2 separate regions of the Homo sapiens genome follow, and region 1 is linked to region 2. Evidence: promoter capture Hi-C in human tissues and cell types (Jung and others, 2019). All regions are on one chromosome and are shown on one strand. The core of a region is centred on a gene start or on the middle of the fragment in contact, and the rest is flanking DNA. Distances in the headings are between cores, read along the strand shown. Region 1 has its middle 5.4 kb from the start of LINC02736. Region 2 holds the start of CDC42BPG (CDC42 binding protein kinase gamma).

Region 1 (6,376 bases), core at 1,491-3,990, 650 kb after region 2:
AGAGGAGCATTCCCAGAAGACGAGCCAAAGACAGCAAAGACCAGGAATCTGGAAGGGCCGGGGCACTAAGAGACAGGAGGGAGGGGGCCCTCATTGCAGGCACAGGCAGCTTCAGGCCACTCTTTCACAGCTTTTCCTTTCTCTTGTCCCATGGCCACCCCCCCACTCCCAATCCAGGCCCCATGACCTCTGGCCTGGGCTATGGCACTGGGCCTCAGTGCCCTCCCCTCTGCTGCCTCTCCCAGCTCTGCCATCCTGCCCAGAGCAGCCAGACAATGCCTCCGGAAGCCAGGGCCTCTCCCAGCTCAGAAGCCATCCTTCTGCCCTAAGAGCCATGTCCATGGCCCTCTCCAGGTGTCCACGCCAGCCCAGACCTCACTGCAGTCTTCTCTTGCTTTCCTGCCAACAGCCACACCCAGCACCCACCTGGCCAGTCATTTCCTCCTCCCCGCACAAGCATTACCAATTTGGGGTGTGCAGGTGCAGGGCCTCTGTTTACCTATTCTGTCTGGGATATTCCCCACCCCCTGCCCCTCATAAAAGTCTATTAAATCCTACACATCCTTTTTGTTGTTGTTGTTGAGATGGAGGCTCACTGTCGCCCAGGCTGGAGGGCAGTGGCGCAATCTCGGCTCATGGCAACCTCCGCCTCCCGGGTTCAAGCGATTCTCCTGCCTGCCTCAGCCTCCCGAGTAGCTGGGATTACAGGCGCCTACCACCATGCCCGGCTAATTTTTGTATTTTAGTAGAGACGAGGTTTCACCATGTTGGTCAGGCTGGTCTCGAATTCCTGACCTCAAATGACCTGCCCACCTCGGCCTCCCAAAGTGCTGGGGTTACAGGCGTGAGCCACCACGCCCAGCCTGGCTTCTGGAATTTTCTAGCCAGAACACAGTCTCTCCTGGGCCCTGTTCCTGTTGTATCACTTCCTGTACTAATCTGTTCCCCTCATGGCTAGACCGAATGCAGCCTGACCCCTTGGATAAGCTTCCAGGAGAAAGCCCACAGGATGGGCAGCCAGGGCGTGAGTGTCCCTACAGCTAACTCAGGGAGATGTCCGGGCCCCAGAGGCCATCTGCCTGCATCTCTAAAAAGTGCTGTGGGAATGTAACTTTTCTGAGTCTTAGATTCTTCAATTGTAGCATGAGGGGCTACTTAGAATTATGGATTTTCAGGATTGGAAGAAAAATCTCAAGTTTTCTTGACCAGCTTCTTCGCAATGCAGGGATACTGCGGAACCCTAGGAAGGTCACCCAGCTTCCAGAGGATACCTGTGGGAATGGGAACTTGCTACCTAGAGGTTTATTCCACTCAAACACTGGGTGGCTCTGATCCACTATTACCAGTTCAGGAGAAGGCCCTGTCATTCTGCGGGCTTCTGTTTTAATCCGGCATTGTTGAGAAACACACCCCGACAAAGTGCCTGAAACCTTGTGGCCGCTACCCCCTTGTCCCAGGAGATGTGTGTCTGTGGGATGTGGGCCACACTTGCATGAGGAAGAATGAATATACGTGTGTGTGTGTGTGTGTGTGTGTGAGCATGCTCATGGAGGATGTTTAATCAGCTTCATGCTGGGTGTGCCAGGCCAATACAAACATCTGCCAGGGACCTGAAGCATGACTGAAAAGATCAGGGACACAAGAACGCGGCTGCGACTCCCTGAGAGCTTCATTGTTCCTTCAGGCCACTTGGGAAGGTTCACTCAGCAGGCGTCTCCCGCGGTGACTCATCATGGGGCAAGGACAGCAAGGGCTGAGCCGGGCTCACTACCCTGCACTGGGCAGGGGGCGGGTAGGAGGTAGAGGGGTGAATGCTCCATCAGAGCTGCATGGAAACCACAGGTGGCCTCTGGGTTTTCTCCCCTGTCTCTGTGGATGGCAGTTGGTTCAGAAGTTCTGAACAGACCTCCAGAGCAAAGCAGTTCCCAGTTTCCCACGCAGTACAGCTAGCTCAGTCCCATTCCACTCCATCCTGATGGGCATTCGAATTTACGTCAAGTCTAAATCCGTTCTGTTCCTGTGGAATGATCTGTTCCTGTGGAATGATCTGTTCCTGTGGGAGCTTTTCAGTATTCTGGTTGTGTGTGTGTGTGTGTGTGTGTGTGTTATAAATTCCAAAAAAGATACTATTCCAATGTATTCATTGAGTCATTACTCAGTAGACACACATGGAGCTTCTACTGTGTGCCAGGCTCTAGTGATCTGGCAAATGACAGCTCTTTGCCTCAGTTTCCTCATCCGTCTAAGGGGAAAGCAACACCACCTCCCCCACAGGGCTGTTGTGAGGCACAGCACTCAATACACGTTACAGAAAATAAAGATGCACATGGAGTGGATAGACGGTTCTACAGACGCAGCCCCCAGGAAGGCATGGGGGACAGCCCAGTTGTGCCCCTCGATGTCAATCTGTCCTCCTACAGCCCACAGTGCTACAGCTGGGCTGCCACAGCCAGGCCTTTCGGGAGGATCCACCAATAGGCTTCAGGGCCCAGGGCCAAGTACATTACGCAGCAAATAGACCAAGGAAGGAACTAGGAGCCTGGAACTCTCAGGCAGGGGGTGGGGAATTGCTTTCTTAAGACACTTTCTCCTAAGAAAGAACAACAACAACAAAAAAGACACTTTCTCCTTTATTCCCCTCCCCGAAAGAGGATTCTATCTAACAAGGAATGCTTGCTAGAAGTAGAGGTGGGTACATTTAGAAGATGTTTTCTTGTCTCAGGAAGAGAGAATCTGTTTCCCCTACCCTCCTGCCCTGGTGATTCAGGGCTGTGATGGAAGAGGCCCCAGCTGCCTCTTCCGCATATCATTTTGGGAAGGTCAATGACACAGCCACTTCTAGTTTCTGTAACTCATTCTTGCTGGAATTGCCCTCAGCTCTCTGTGAAGTGACAGGCCTGTCTGCTGGGTTTCAAGGGATAATTTTACATGTTCTACAGGGTAAATTATTAGCTGTCCAAAACCCCCTAGAAAACAATGCTCTGTCTTCCATATCATAGAGCTCTGAGCTGCATCATCTCTGTAGGTTTTTTCCTGCTGTGGGGGCGGTCACAGTAGGTGAGGGAGCCTAAGTTTGTGCAGCAGCTACGGAAGGTCACATTGTTCCAGAAATCGGCTCTGGGAAGGTGGGCAGCCAGGGGATGGGATTGGGAACTGCAAATTCCTAAAATCTTTAGAAAACAAGAAAGTTTGGGCTGGGTGTGGTGGTTCATGCCTGTAATCCCAGCACTTTTGGAGGCAGAGACAGGCGGATCACTTAAGGTCAGGAGTTTCAGACCAGCCTAGCCAACATGGTAAAACCCTGTCTCTACTAAAAATATGAAAACTAGCCGGGCATGGTGGCAGGCACTTGCAATCCCAGCTACTTGGGAGGCTGAAGCAGGAGAATCACCTGAACCCGGAAGGCAGAGGTTACAGTAAGCTGAGATCCCGTCACTGCACTCTAGCCTGGGTGACAAGAGCAAAAAACTGTCTCAAGGAAAAAAAAAAAAACAAAAACCAAGAAAGTTGTTTTCTTGGGACTGTCTTTGCCCTTCATTTCTGACCTGCATTTCTAGAGAGCTCTAGAAATGCAGAATTAAAGAAAAAATTACAGGATTAGATAAAATCAAAGGAGGCCTGGGAGGAATCCAGGTGCCATGAAGACTCAGCCACTGCGGCCTCTGGGCTCCAGGGCCGTAGATGACGGATCTCTCAGAAGCTTGTCTCTTGACTAAGCCTGACTGGACTTGCCAATCAGGGAAGGGGTGGAGTGGATTCTGGCATTCTCTGGAGGTTTCCGGCCTGGCCTGAGTCAGGAGGATTAAGGTAGGGCCTTGCTGACTGTATGCTTGGAGGCTGGATGCAAAATTTTTGCCCTTTTAGTCCTTTTCAGCACCCCGCCTTCTCGAAGGTACAGCCAGGAGGCCTAAGATCTTTCCTTTTTCTTTTTTTTTCAGACAGTCTTGCTCTGTTGCCAGGCTGGAGTGCAGTGGCACCATCTCAGCTCACTGCAACCTCTGCCTCTCGGGTTCAAGCGATTCTCTTGCCTCAGTCTCCCGAGTAGCTGGGACTACAGGTGCCCTCCACCACACCCCAGCTAATTTTTGTATTTTTAGTAGAGATGGGGTTTCACCATGTTGGCCAGGGTGGTCTCGATCTCTTGACCTGGTGATCCGCCTGCCTCAGCCTCCCAAAGTGTTGGGATTACAGGCATGAGCCACCACGCCCGGCTCCAGCCTAAAGTCTTTCATGTCCTCTCCCCAACCCTTTGTTTACTGTATTTTATAGAATCAGCATCATGGCTTCTTGCATGGAATCCTCTCATTTTACATATCTCAGTTGCTACTGGGAAGTTATTTGGGTTGGTGCCTGAGGTCACAGGGCTGTTTGTCAGTGGAGTAATTGCCAGAAACCAGAACCAAGGGCATTCTATTTTTAGCCTGGGCTTTTTTGAGGGGAGCATGAGATGACTGGCTAAAACAAATTTGCCCTCTTATATTTGTGTCCTTAGGCCCAAATGAAGTCTAGGTTTGAGACTAAAGTGAAAGGGAACAAACATGATATTAAAGGACTAGTGGAGGGGGCAGCTTCCATCAGACATTATGAAATTAAAAGGAGCACAGACGCAGTCCAGAGAAAAGGTGCTTGAAAAAATTCAGTGTTATGTTAAAAAGATCCTTAGTTCCAAGAGTGCTGAGAAGGCCACATAATCAAATATATTATTAATCTCCTCACTAAAGTACATGGCAATTTTAGGCTGTCTTTTTTTATTATTTCATTTTTTAGAGTTTTTTTTTTTTTTTTTTTTTTTAAAGACGTTGTCTTGCTCTGTCGCCCAGGCTGGAGTGCAGTGACACGATCTCGGCTCACCACAACCGCTGCCTCCCGGGTTCAAGTGATTCTTGTGCCTTAGCCTCCTGAGTAGCTGGGATTACAGGCGCACGCCACCACACCTGGCTGATTTTTGCATTTTTAGTAGAGACGGGGTGTTACCAAGTTGGACAGGCTGGTCTGGAACTCCTGACCTCATGTGATCCAACCGCCTTGGCCCCTTTATGGGTTTTCACATTTGTGGATTCAAACAACTGTGAATCAAAAATATTTTTAAAGGCCGGGCATGGTGGGTCACACCTGTAATCCCAGCACTTTGGGAGGCCAAGGGAGGCAGATCATCTGAGGTCAGGAGTTCGAGACCAGCCTGACCAACATGGTGAAACCCTGTCTCTACTAAAAATACAAAAAAAATTAGCCGGGCGTGGTGGTGCGTACCTGTAATCCCAGCTACTCGGCAGGCTGAGGGAGGAGAATCGCTTGAACCTGGGAGGTGGAGCTTGCAGTGAGCCGAGATCGCGCCATTGCACTCCAGCCTGGGCTACAAGAGTGAAACTCCATCTCAAAAAAAAAAAAAAAAAAAAGAAAAATTTTTAAAAATTGAATCTGTATTGAACATATACAGACTTCGTTTCTTGTTATTACTCCCTCATTAATACAATATAAAAATTATTTACGTTGTATTAGGTATTATAAGCAAACTAGAGATGATTTAAGGGATATGGGAGGATATCTGTAGGTTACATAAGGAACTTGAGCATCTTCAGATTTTAGCATCCGAGGAGAGGTTTTAGAACCAAGGCCCCATGGATACCAAGGGATGACTGTACAACATTCTGGCGGCTGGGCACAGTGGCTCAAGCCTGTAATCCCAGCACTTTGGGAGGCCGAGGCGGGCGGATCACGAGGTCAGGAGATCCAGACCATCCTGGTTAACACGGTGAAACCCTGTCTCTGCTAAAACTACAAAAAATTAGTCGGGCGTGGTGGCGGGCGCCTGTAGTACCAGCTACTCGGGAGGCTGAGGCAAGTGAATTGCTTGAACCAGGGAGGCGGAGGTTACGGTGAGCCGAGATCCCGCCACTGCACTCCAGCCTCAGCGATAGAGTGAGACTTCGTCTCAAAAAAAAAAAAAAAGAAACATTCTGTAATCTGTCAAGGTAATGGAAATTAATGCAGTGACACTGACAATAATTTAAAGCATTTTAGGGCTCTTAACGTTCATCTCACTCGCTCTAGAGTGAAGGAGAGAGCAGAGAGTACAGAGCAGGTCCTAGGTCCTCCCCCAGATATAGAAAAACCGCAGTTGGAGAGACTGACAGAAGTGCTGGAGAGGAAGGGAGGCAGCAGGACGTGGAAAATCTGGGATTCAAGAACAGCTTCTGCTATTAATTAGCTGTGTGTCATTTCAGGCAAATCACAAAATCTCCAGGCCCCCAAATCCCCATTTGCGAAACGAGGTGACCTGCCTCAGTTTTCCTTCATCCAGCGATAAAATTCTACTAAAAAATTTCCAACCCCAGAGCAAGCATCAGGACTGTGCCTGAAGGGATCCGGCTGCATC
Region 2 (6,153 bases), core at 2,465-4,964:
AAGAGTTGGAGACCAGCCTGGCCAATGTGGTGAAACTCCATCTCTACTAAAAATACAAGAAACTTAGCTGGGTGTCGTGGCACACGCCTGTAATCCCAGCTACTTGGGAGGCTGAGGCATGAGAATCCCTTGCACCCAGGAGGTGGAGGTTGCAGTGAGCCGAGATCACGCCACCGCACTCCAGCCTGGGTGACAGAGTGAGACTCTATCTTAAAAAAAAAAGTTTATTGTAGGCTGGGCACGGTGGTTCACGCCTGTAATCCCAGCACTTCGGGAGGCCAAGGCAGAAGGATCATCTGAGGTCAGGAGTTCGAGACCAGCCTGTCCAACATAGCAAAACCTCATCTCTACTAAAAATACAAAAATTAGCTGGGTGTGGTGGCAGGTGCCTGTAATCCCAGCTACTCGGGAGGCTGAGGCAGGAGAATTACTTGAACTGGGAGGCGGAGGTTGCAGTGAGCCAAGATAGCACCGTTGAACTCCAGCCTAGTTGACAGAGCAAGATTCCGTCTCAAAAAAAAAAAAAAAATTTAAAAAATTAAATAAAGGGTTTATTGTGAGAAAGATAACAAATCAGTGGCTGCTGAGGGTGGCACCCTTTGCCTGGTCTGCAGCCTTGCCCGCCCCCCCCGCGCCATAGGCCCTGGCAGCATACACCTCCCCCACACCCATTTGTAGGGTGCCCAAGGGCCCCCCAGACTCCACACTGACCTCAGCCCTCTTCAGCATCTCCCACTTGTGCAGCATTTTCATGGCAAAAATCTGCCCAGTGTCCCTCTGCCTCACCACGGTGACCTAAGGCCACAGGGAGGACCGGGGTGAGCCCAGCCCGGTGTGAACACCTCCCCCCACCTACCCCAGGCCCTTTGCTCACCTCCCCAAAGGCTCCTCGGCCGATCACCTTCAAGATCTCAAAGTCATCTCTCTGCAGACGCAGTTCTTTCACCTTTGATACGAAGGGGCTGGCTGAGGGGACACAGGGCGGGACTCAGAGTGCAGGGAGGGAGGGCTCCATTCCCCCTCTCACCTTGGGCAAGCCAGGAGCTGCCGCTCCTGTGAGCCCAGGCAGGGATGACCTCCCCAGGGACAGCCTCGGGCCAAGGGGTTGTGGCAGGAACTGGTGCTCCTTTGGCCATGATCAGGAAGTGCGGAAGGTCAGAGGCCGGGCTCAGCTGACCGCCTGGTCCCTGGACCTCCCTGGACCCCTGGCCCCAGACTCTAGGCAGCCTCCATCCCAGGGGCTGATGGGACTTGTAGTCCTGCCCAGTCTGCGGCCTGACTCTGCTTGGCCAGGTCACCCTGGGGACCATGGGGACACCATTCCTACCCCCACCTCACAGTTCTTGGCCCCCTCACAGGTTCAGGCCAGGGCCTGTCTTAGGAAACTGGACGGGTGACATTCCTTATCCCCAGAGAGGCTTCTCTCCCATTCAGGAGCTGTGGGCCTGGGTCCCGGGACCCTGTAGGCATAGAGGTGCCTGGTTGGGGGTGAGGCCTGCAGCCCCTAGGGCAGGGAGGACAGGCTCTATGCTTCCCACGTGGGGCCCCTCAGGCTGGAGGCATGGATGCCAGTCTGCCAAGGTGCTGAGACTCACAAACAGGACAAAGATGCCTTTCCCTGGTGCTAGCACTAGCCCCTGAAGGCGTGAGTGCTCAGGATGCCTCCAGGCCTGACCGGCTCTCTCACTCCCAGCCCTGCCTCCCTGTCTGGACGAAGCTTTTGTCTGGTCAAGAACGTCCTCTTTCCTCACATCCCAGATACCTCCAGGAAGGGCAACTCCAGCCACTCCCAGGCACTTTCCAGGCCTGGATTAGCCCCAGGTTTTGGGAAGGAATTGGGTCTTAGGGAGGCAGGAGTGATCAGTCAGGATGGGGGGCAGCTGTGGTCTGGCGCCCTGCCTCAGTTTCCCCCTGCCAGGAGGTAAACTCCCTGCCAGCTGGGCGGGTCTGTGGGTGGGACAGAGAGCTGTTCCACAGGTTTATCAGGCAGAAGCCCGCAGCGGGGGCGGGGTGGAAACCTCATTACAGAAATTCATTGTCTCTTTCCCAGGTCTGTGTGTGGAGCTGGGGAGGAGCAGCCCCGGGCCTCCCCGTGGGAGTTGAAGCCAGCACCATAGGGACCCACCCGCCAGAAGAGGGCCGAAGCCCAGGCCCACAGGCAGGAGGATCCAGGCCCCTGGACAGGCTGCCTAATCCTCTGGCCTCCCACAGGGCATGGGGGCTCCGGGCAGGAGCAGGGACAAGTAGAGACAAGCAGGAGAGGAATGAGTCACAGCCCTTTGAGTTACCTTGGGAGATTGTCAACAGAGGGCCCCCATGCCGGGGTCCCAGGCAGAGGTGCTGGAGGCAGTCAGGGAGGAGCACACATGTGTGTGCAAACACACACACGTGTGTGGGTGTCATGGGGGGGGTGACAACAACACAGGCAGACAGGCATAGCACGGAGGCATACCAGGGAGACAGGCACAGAGGCAGGGGCCTCTGACTGCCTCGCCCTGGATGGAAGGGTTGGGGCTAGGGGACAACTCCCTGGCACATCTAGGTGGCAGCCTCCCCCTCTACCCCAGGCCTTGTGCCTTCCCAGAGCTCAGGAGTGCCAGGAACGCTAGTTGCCCACTGGGCAAACACCTGCCTCACCCCGCCCTGGCCAGGCCCCCGTGCCTTTTCCCCATGGCCCGGCAGGGTGTGACCAGGGAACCCTCCAGCTGGCGCCAGTGCCCACAGTGGGTTCAGGGTCACCCCGGGCCAGCCACTCCCAATGACTCAGATGAGTCTACCAGGAAAGGTACAGACCCATCTCCAGCTAGGCCCCCCTCCCCGGCCCCGGCGCCACAGCCCCCAAGGAGCTTGGCCAGCAGCCTGCACAGGCCAAGGGTTGGAGATCGGTTCCTGAGTCCAGGCTGCAGTGGTCTTGTACCCAGGGAGCTGGGGGTGTGTGTGTTGGTGGGGGGAAGGTCTGCAAGTGTGCGATACCTACAGATCTGTGTGTTTTGCAGTGCCAATGCGGTCGGGGTGGTCTGCAGCGCTCCCTGGGTCTCTCCATGAGTTGTGTGTCTCAATGCATCCGAGAGGAAGGAGAAACAGAGCCCGTGTATCAGTGGGTGACATGCATGAGGGTCTGTGTGTGTCCTGCGTCAGGTGTGGCCTGTAAGCAAGGAAATCTGTAAGGGACTCTAGGCGGTGCACTGGGTACATGCGTCTGCGGTCGATACCTGAGCACAAGTTGGTATGTGTGTGCATGTGTCGGGGTCTGTGAGAGGGAGAGAGCGTGTGTGAGAATTGGAGTGAGGGTGAGGTGTGCAGGCGAGTGTGCGGGCCGCGGGGGTCCGGTGGTACGCGTCAGGGCCACTGCAGGGAGTCTGCGAGGGAAGCCCGTGGGGGTGCGGGTCCCTGCGGGAAAGTCTGCGGGTGCGGGGGTCTCGGCGCGATATCCCTAGGCCCGCCCCCGCTCCGTGCCGCCCCGCCACTCACCCCAGCTCAGGAACTGCGCCACGCTGCGCTCCCGCCGTAGGGGGCCGCTGCTGAGCTCGTGGTGCAGCGCCAGCAGCAGATCTAGGAGGCCGTCGAGCCCCGGGCAGCCGCCGGCCTCGCCCCGCGCCAGCTGCTCCAGCGCGCGCAGCCGCCGCTCCATGGCTGCGGCCGGAGCCTCGCTGCTCGGCTACAGTCTGGCCGCCCGCATGCCCGCCTGTCGGGCCGTCCGTCCGCCCAACCGTCTGAGGCTCTGTCCGCGCGTCCTCCCCCGCCCCTCTCCCGCCCTCCCCGCTGTCACCTTCCTCCGCCGCCGCCAGCGCGCCCTCACCTGGGCGCCGCGCCCCGCCCCCCGACGGACGGGCAGGTGCGCGCCGGCCAATGGGAGCCGCGGCTAGAGGTGAAGGTGGGGGCGGAGGCGCGCGGGGGCGGGCCCAACTCCCGGCCAGGAAGTGCGGGGGCGGGCCGGGGAGAACAACTGACTTCTGCGCGGGGCGCGGTGGGGTTCTGCGGGGTCGGAAAGACTCCCCAGATCCCCGCGCGGCCCCAGACCCAGACTTACCTGGGCCCTCCCTGGGCCCTGACCCAGGAGGCGCGGAGCACTGCAACTTCTCTCGCCCCCTGGGTCGCAGCCGCCTTGCCCTTGGCTAAGAGAGAGGGGCTAGGGACGCCCGCGGCCCCGGAGCCGGATGGGAATTGTAGTTCGCTCTCTCCATGGTTTGCCCGCGCTTGGCACCCATCGCCCCCCCGCCCCCGCCCAAAAAAAAGTTTCTGAATCTTACTTTGATTGTATCATTAGAGTTGATGTGGGAGACAGGAAGTTGGGGTAGGGATGGTCACGCCCATTTGGCAGATGGACACACTGAGGCTTGGGAAGGAGGAAGGCGAATTGAGGGGCTGAGGACAAGGTGGCTCTTAAGTTAGACCCTGGGGTGGAGGTGGAGCTGGGCTGGTACCAACACCACAGGCGTTTTAAGCTTCAGTAGGAGCAGGGCCTGAGGTCTGACCTGGAACGTGAAGGGCAAGGAGAGGTCTGAGATAGGCTGGAGGAGGTTGGGGAGGGGAGGGGCTGGCTCTGTCCAGTGGTATTTCTGATTTCTGTCCAGCTGGGATGGACCAGGCACCATGAGGAGAGATCAAAGGGTGGGACATATTGGTGGCTTCAGACAACACTTTTTTTTTTTTTTTTTTGAGACAGGGTCTCTCTGTCACCCATGCTGGAGTGCAGTGATGCAATCATAACTCACTGCAGCCTTGACCTCTTAGGCTCCTGCCTCAGCCTCTTGAGTAGCTGGGATTACAGGCAGATGCCACCACACCCAGCTGATTTTTTATTTTACTTTTTGGAGTCAAGGGTTATTGTTATGTTGACCAGGCTGGTCTCGAACTCCTGGGCTCAGGTAATCCTCCCACCTTGGCCTCCCGGAGTTCTGGGATTACAGACATGGGCAACTACACCCGGCCTAGACAACACTTCTTTCTCTTTTTTGAGACAGGGTCTCACTCTGTCCCCTAGGCTGGAGTGCAGTGGTGCAATCGTAGCTCACCACAGCCTCAACCTCCTGGGTTCAAGTGATCCTCCCACCTCAGCCTCCCGAATAGCTGAGACTACAGGCTCACACCACTAGGCCAGGCTGATGTTTTGTTTTTTGAGATGGTGTCTCACGCTGTCACCCAGGCCAGAGTGCAGTGGCACGATCTCGGCTCACTGCAACCTCTGCCTCCCAGGTTCAAGAGAGTCTCCTGCCTCAGCCTCCCAAGTAGCTGGGATTATAGGCATGTGCCACCACACCCAGCTAATTTTTGTATTTTTAGTAGAGATAGGGTTTTGCCATGTTGGCCAGGCTGATCTCAAACTCCTGACTTCAGGTGATCCTTCTGCCTCGGCCTCCCAAAGTGCTGGGATTACATGCGTGAGTCACTGGGCCCAGCCATGTTTGTATTTTTTATAGAGATGGGGTTTCGCCATGTTGCCTAGGCTGATCTCAAACTCCTGGACTCAAGTGATCTGCCTGCCTCAGCCTCCCAAAGCGCTGGGATTACAGGCTGTAGCCACTGGCCAACACATTATTTCATTAAAAGACCTGTTTAGGGGTTTGCCTCTCCTCTCGTACTGGGACCTCGCTGAGATGGGGGCAGGATCAGGTTGAGGGAGGAGGTGTTCCATGAATGTTTGAAGCAAACAGGGTGTTTCTCCCCACGAAGGGTTTTTCATGTGATTATTTGTTTATTTATTTATTTATTTTAAAGAGACAGGGTTGCACTATATTGCCACGTTGGCCAAGCTGGTCTGACCTCAGGTGATCCGCCCACCTCGGCCTCCCAAAGTGCTGGGATTACAGGCATGAGCCACCATACCCAGCCTTTTTTTGAGACAGGGTCTTGCTCTGTCACCCAGGCTGGAGTGCAGTGATGCAATCTCAGCTCACTGCAGCCTCAACATACTGGGCTCAAGTGATCCTCCCACCTCAGCCTCCTGAGTAGCTGGGACCGCAAGCCTGCACCACCACGCCTGGTTAATTTTTAATTTTTTTTTTAGAGCTGGGGTCTCTCTACATTGCCCGGGGCTGGTCTCAGACTCGCCCTGCCTCCCATGTGATCTCCCCAGAGGCCCGCCCTGTAGCTACGCAGGGCCCATGGGCTGAGAAATGTTTGGGGAAACAGAGTCTGGGTGTATTACCTAAA

What was found. The method cuts DNA at HindIII sites, captures the fragments that hold promoters and counts their contacts. A contact is called where the count stands out against the background at its distance.
Region 1: a contact is called between a fragment that was not itself captured here and the fragment with the promoter of CDC42BPG in region 2, in 1 of the 25 tissues and cell types used here (spleen).

Annotation. Positions count from the first base shown.
Region 1 is chr11:65,490,282-65,496,657 of GRCh38, forward strand. No RefSeq gene overlaps it. Among named protein-coding and RNA genes, the nearest start is that of LINC02736, 5.4 kb to the left of the region's middle. RefSeq lists enhancers at 1,557-1,851, 2,688-3,198, 3,199-3,710, 3,202-3,331, 3,577-3,871 and 2 more, silencers at 1,381-1,882, 3,577-3,871 and a cis regulatory region at 3,610-3,852. The HindIII fragment of the contact is 5,007 bases long and covers 238-5,244 here.
Region 2 is chr11:64,840,939-64,847,091 of GRCh38, forward strand. It overlaps CDC42BPG (CDC42 binding protein kinase gamma), which reads right to left and starts at 3,715. Exons shown (of 37, transcript NM_017525.3): 1 at 3,472-3,715; 2 at 875-966; 3 at 712-795. The coding sequence starts at 3,631. RefSeq lists enhancers at 753-1,565, 2,059-2,353, 2,378-3,190 and silencers at 3,405-3,454, 3,485-3,534, 3,545-3,894. The HindIII fragment of the contact is 4,484 bases long and covers 3,082-6,153 here.